2 separate regions of the Homo sapiens genome follow, and region 1 is linked to region 2. Evidence: promoter capture Hi-C in human tissues and cell types (Jung and others, 2019). All regions are on one chromosome and are shown on one strand. The core of a region is centred on a gene start or on the middle of the fragment in contact, and the rest is flanking DNA. Distances in the headings are between cores, read along the strand shown. Region 1 overlaps LINC00158 (long intergenic non-protein coding RNA 158). Region 2 holds the start of APP (amyloid beta precursor protein).

The links. Contacts are between HindIII fragments. The study calls those that stand out against the background at their distance.
Region 1: a contact is called between a fragment that was not itself captured here and the fragment with the promoter of APP in region 2, in 1 of the 25 tissues and cell types used here (lymphoblastoid cells).

Annotation. Positions count from the first base shown.
Region 1 is chr21:25,389,303-25,392,002 of GRCh38, reverse strand. All of the region lies in intron 4 of LINC00158 (long intergenic non-protein coding RNA 158), which reads left to right. Among named protein-coding and RNA genes, the nearest start is that of LINC00158, 41 kb to the left of the region's middle. The HindIII fragment of the contact is 3,867 bases long and covers 1-2,700 here.
Region 2 is chr21:26,169,321-26,172,020 of GRCh38, reverse strand. It overlaps APP (amyloid beta precursor protein), which reads left to right and starts at 1,251. Exons shown (of 18, transcript NM_000484.4): 1 at 1,251-1,457. The coding sequence starts at 1,401. APP-DT (APP divergent transcript) reads right to left here and starts at 1,154. Exons shown (of 4, transcript NR_186396.1): 1 at 969-1,154. RefSeq lists silencers at 899-1,728, 2,229-2,498 and enhancers at 1,516-2,040, 2,539-2,700. The HindIII fragment of the contact is 4,835 bases long and covers 1-2,700 here.

The sequences.
Region 1 (2,700 bases), core at 60-2,559, 780 kb after region 2:
GTCTCTTGCTCTCGTAGCTAAAGCACTCCAAGAAATATGCACATAATTCTAAGTCAGTGGCAGTGGGAAGGGAGAAGTAGGTTTGCATTAGAGAGATCAGGAAAGTTGAGTGATCAGGATTTGGTAATAAATTGGGTGTGGCCGTTACAGAAGAGAGAAGAGGCAGAGCTGAGCCTGGGTCATGGTGTTTAAACTCTTGTTTAAAGCTAAAGATACATTTTTGCCAGAAAAATCCAGGTATGGACATTTTGCCTACAATATCAGGAGGCTCACAGAAGCTTTAGCCATATGTTAGAAACCACTCTGTAGAGGAAAATCCTAGAGGTTGGATAGGATGACCTGAAAGATTCCTTCTGCTTCCTCAATATTTCAATAGTTATAGAACCCAAATATCGGTATATTTTTGGGCCTACTGGTAGCTACAAGGAAGTCAGGAAGGGGAGCTGGTGCTTTTGTGAGGCACTAGGAAATGTAGGAGGGAAATGTATTTTGTTTTAGACCTGGAGGTTGAAGTGCTGGGAGGGCATTCTTGGGTAGATGTTGAGTGGGTTACCAAAGGCATACTTTGAGAAAGTGTTTAGAGCATTAGATCTGCACTGTTGAATATGGTAGCCATTGGGCACATGTGGCCATTGAAGACTGTGGCTAACAAAATGTGGCTAATCCTAACTGGGATATACTGTAAGTGTAATGTACATCCATTTCCAAGACAGTTAAAAAATGTAAAATATGTCAATTTAAGAATATTAGCTACATGTTGAAATCATAATATTTTGAATATATTCAGTTAAATAAAATATATGATTAAAATAAGTTCATCAGCTTCTCCTTACTTTTTAAATGTGGCTACTGGAAAATTTAAAAATGTGTAGTTTTTGTTTGCAGCTGACGTATTTCTGTTGGGTAGCACTGCTCAAGGTGGTGTTTGGAGGTATTATCAGGGACAACTTGGGAACATTTGAGCTCTCTGGGAAGAGGATATCCAGAGAGAAAAGCAGAAGGTTGAAAATGTACTTGTGGAGCATGTCTACATTCATAGGTCTAGAATGAAGAGGAGGAGACTGGAAAGGAGCTGTGGGATAAGGCCAGAGAAGGGGAAGTAGATGACATCACAGGAATGTGGTGAAGAAGGGGCATTAGGAAAGAAATGGATAGTGATTAGGATTATGCAAAGTAATTTGGCCTTTGTTCTATTGCTATTGGAGAGCATATGGAGGTTTTTTTCCCAGAAAGTAAAATGATCAAATTTAAATTTTAAGAAGATGATTTTGGCAAGGAAATAATGAACCAATTGGATTGACAGAGAAGCTGAAGGTCAGGTGGATAGCTAGAAAGTCAGGGAATAATAACAACCAAAAAGCCCTTAGGCATCTAGAAAGCTGAGCAGAAAAGAATTGTTTTGACTTTGAGAAAGAACTTTTTATTTTATTTTCTTGCCTTGAAAAATGAGGTGTTTTTGAACAGTGTGATTTTGGTAATTTAAAGCCTGTGTCTCTGTTTATAGAATCCAGGAAAATGGGTTGCCATAAAAATCAGTGTCACAGATGATTAAAGTTGTTTTGTGTGGGAAAAATAGAAGGCTATAAAGAAACTAAAGACACAAAAGTTATAGGATTTCTAAGAAACAAAGGTTGTCTTTTTGTATAATTGTCTCATGTAGAGAAAACAGAAAAGAAGATTATTCCCCACCCTTAAGAACATGAAAGTAGAAAAGAATGGTTTCTAAAAAGGGTTTTCCTTGAGACTCTGCCACCATAACTTGTGACCTTTTAAGGTATTTCTAAGTATTTACAAATTGAGCATACTATGTCCTAGAATGTTCTTTGAGCAGAAATTTTGGTACATAAAATTATTTATTTGGAGTTTGGTTTAAGGCAAAGAACAGGTTGAAATATATGAAAGTACAAAATTCAGAGAATTAAGTGAAGATGAGCTGAATATTCTGAAGGTTGTGTTAGTCCATTTTCATACTGCTATGAAGAAATACCTGAGACTGGGTAATTTTCTTAAAAAAAGAGGTTTAATGGACTCACAATTCCACATGGCTGTGGAACTGTAATGCCTCACGATCATGGCGGAAAGCGAAGGAGGAGCAAAGGCACATCTTACATGGTGGCAGGCAACAGAGCGTGTGCAGGGGAACTGCCTTTTATAAAACCATCGGATCTCGTGAGATGTATTCACTATCAGGAGAACAGCACGGGAAAAATCCACGACCATGATTAAATTACCTCCCACTGGGTCCCTCCCTTGGCATGTGGGGATTATGGAAGTTACAATTCAAGATAAGATTTGGATGGGGACACAGCCAAACCATATCAAAGGTATTTGGATCCTGTTTAAATATATGTTATAAAGTCTTTGCTAGTTTAAAGGGAAAAGAGAAAAAACTGATGGCAAAAGGAAGCCGATGAAAGGGGCCATATGAGGAGACTAACCAAAAGGAAATAGTCAATTAAAGACATTTGGAAAATTTACCTAGATGGAGTACTATAGGATTTGGACACTCTGCTGGATACTGAATACACAGGATTAGGATAAAATCAATGCTGTTGAAGAATAACTGTAATATGCAGCAGCTAACATTTATTAAGCATTTATTATATACTCATTTATGTATTACAACAGCCTGACGAAGTAGGTATTATCTCAATGCTACAGATGGTGCAGTGAGATTAGGTAACTTGTCCAAGGTTACAC
Region 2 (2,700 bases), core at 2-2,501:
GGTACAGAAATGACTTCCCAGGAAGGAAGTCTGTACCCCGCTGGCTGAGCCATCCTTCCCGGGCCTAGGCACCCTTGTCAGCGCAATGAGCAAGGGAGAGAAGGCAGGCTGCAGTGCAGCCCTCAGAAGGGCCAGAGCACTCCCTGGCTTCAGTCCTTCGCTCCAAGCCCTGTGTGGAGTGGGCTGTGGCTTGGTAACTAAATGCTACTTCAGGTCAAGAGCAGGGGATATATCTGGGCAGTTCTAGAGCATTCTAAACTATCTGGACACTAACTGGACAGTGGACGGTTTGTGTTTAATCCAGGAGAAAGTGGCATGGCAGAAGGTTCATTTCTATAATTCAGGACAGACACAATGAAGAACAAGGGCAGCGTTTGAGGTCAGAAGTCCTCATTTACGGGGGTCGAATACGAATGATCTCTCCTAATTTTTCCTTCTTCCCCAACTCAGATGGATGTTACATCCCTGCTTAACAACAAAAAAAGACCCCCCGCCCCGCAAAATCCACACTGACCACCCCCTTTAACAAAACAAAACCAAAAACAAACAAAAATATAAGAAAGAAACAAAACCCAAGCCCAGAACCCTGCTTTCAAGAAGAAGTAAATGGGTTGGCCGCTTCTTTGCCAGGTCCTGCGCCTTGCTCCTTTGGTTCGTTCTAAAGATAGAAATTCCAGGTTGCTCGTGCCTGCTTTTGACGTTGGGGGTTAAAAAATGAGGTTTTGCTGTCTCAACAAGCAAAGAAAATCCTATTTCCTTTAAGCTTCACTCGTTCTCATTCTCTTCCAGAAACGCCTGCCCCACCTCTCCAAACCGAGAGAAAAAACGAAATGCGGATAAAAACGCACCCTAGCAGCAGTCCTTTATACGACACCCCCGGGAGGCCTGCGGGGTCGGATGATTCAAGCTCACGGGGACGAGCAGGAGCGCTCTCGACTTTTCTAGAGCCTCAGCGTCCTAGGACTCACCTTTCCCTGATCCTGCACCGTCCCTCTCCTGGCCCCAGACTCTCCCTCCCACTGTTCACGAAGCCCAGGTGGGCCGTCGGCCGGGGAGCGGAGGGGGCGCGTGGGGTGCAGGCGGCGCCAAGGGCGCGTGCACCTGTGGGCGCGGGGCGCGAGGGCCCCTCCCGGCGCGAGCGGGCGCAGTTCCCCGGCGGCGCCGCTAGGGGTCTCTCTCGGGTGCCGAGCGGGGTGGGCCGGATCAGCTGACTCGCCTGGCTCTGAGCCCCGCCGCCGCGCTCGGGCTCCGTCAGTTTCCTCGGCAGCGGTAGGCGAGAGCACGCGGAGGAGCGTGCGCGGGGGCCCCGGGAGACGGCGGCGGTGGCGGCGCGGGCAGAGCAAGGACGCGGCGGATCCCACTCGCACAGCAGCGCACTCGGTGCCCCGCGCAGGGTCGCGATGCTGCCCGGTTTGGCACTGCTCCTGCTGGCCGCCTGGACGGCTCGGGCGCTGGAGGTGGGTGCCGCGCCTCGGAAGGCGGGGGGAGGCTGCACGGTGGGGACGCGATACCCCCCAAGACCTTAACCCAAGTCTTTAATGCAGAGAAGCCGGGGGTCCGTCAATGGGACCCCTCTCCTCTCCGCCCCCGCTTGCGGACGTCCAGCGCATCCCCGCTTTCGGCCCAGCCCTGCCCCAGGGAGTCGCGCTCCGGCCCGCTGAGAGGGAGCGGGCGAGGCGCTGGTCTCCCTGGTTCCGCGCCAGCCCGGGGCGAGAAGGGTAGGGGGCGACCCTGAGCCCAGACCCCGACTTAGTCCCTGCCTTGGAAGCGGGGGTCGGGGGAGGCGAGAGACATTCAGACAGGGGGGAAGGGGGAAGGAGCACGTGGGGAAAACCGAAAACGCAGCGTCCCTAAAGCCAGTCCTTCGCTCTTGAATCGTTGCCCTTTCCTTTCTCTTGGGCCCTGGGGAGGAGGAGGAGGAGTCGGGACAGCCCAGGAAGCTAGGAGCCCCTCGCTTTTCCCTGCGTTCTCCGCCTCGTTTCACCTTCCTCTCTCACCCCCATCCCCCTTCCTTGCTCCAACCTCTTTTCGCGGCTGCTGGCGGCGGCAGCCTGGGTGCGACCCTAGCCCGAGCCGGCGTCGGGGTCGCGCACCGCCTTCCACAGGCAAACTTTGTGCATGTCCGCGTCTCCCTTTTGTGTAACTTGCGAGAAATGGGAGGGGTCGGAGACCCATAGCCACCCCGCGCCTTCCCCAAGTCTGGACGTCCCGGGAGTTCGCTCGCACCCTAAGCTCTGTCTGAGAGGCAGAAGGTCCGCGGGAACAAAAGCCGCGACACCCCGCCCTCGCCGTGGGCCGAGCCGCGTTAGTCTCAGTGCGCCACCGAGGCTCCCGCCCGGCTCCCTTCCCGGGGCTGCGCGTCCGCCTGGGAGGGGGCAGAGACGCTGCCGGGGCTTCTGGCGGAGCCTCGGGGCCCCTCTGCTTCCCACCCTCGGATCACCTCCGAGGCTTAATTCTGTGCTGGGCTGTAAAGTCCTTGGCGGGGAGGAAATAAGGCGGAGAGTGGGATGTGCGTCTGGAAAGGGCAGTGGCGGATGGTGGGGAGGCACGGGCTCTGTCCTGTGCATCCAAGGAGGCGTTTGTCTGATTAAGGCGCGGCCTCTTCCCTGGCAGCTCTGGGGACTCTGGTTTAGTTCCCCTGGGGGCACAGGATGCTGGGGAGGGTCCGAAGGGTCTTTTTTTTAGGGTGCAGATAAAAGG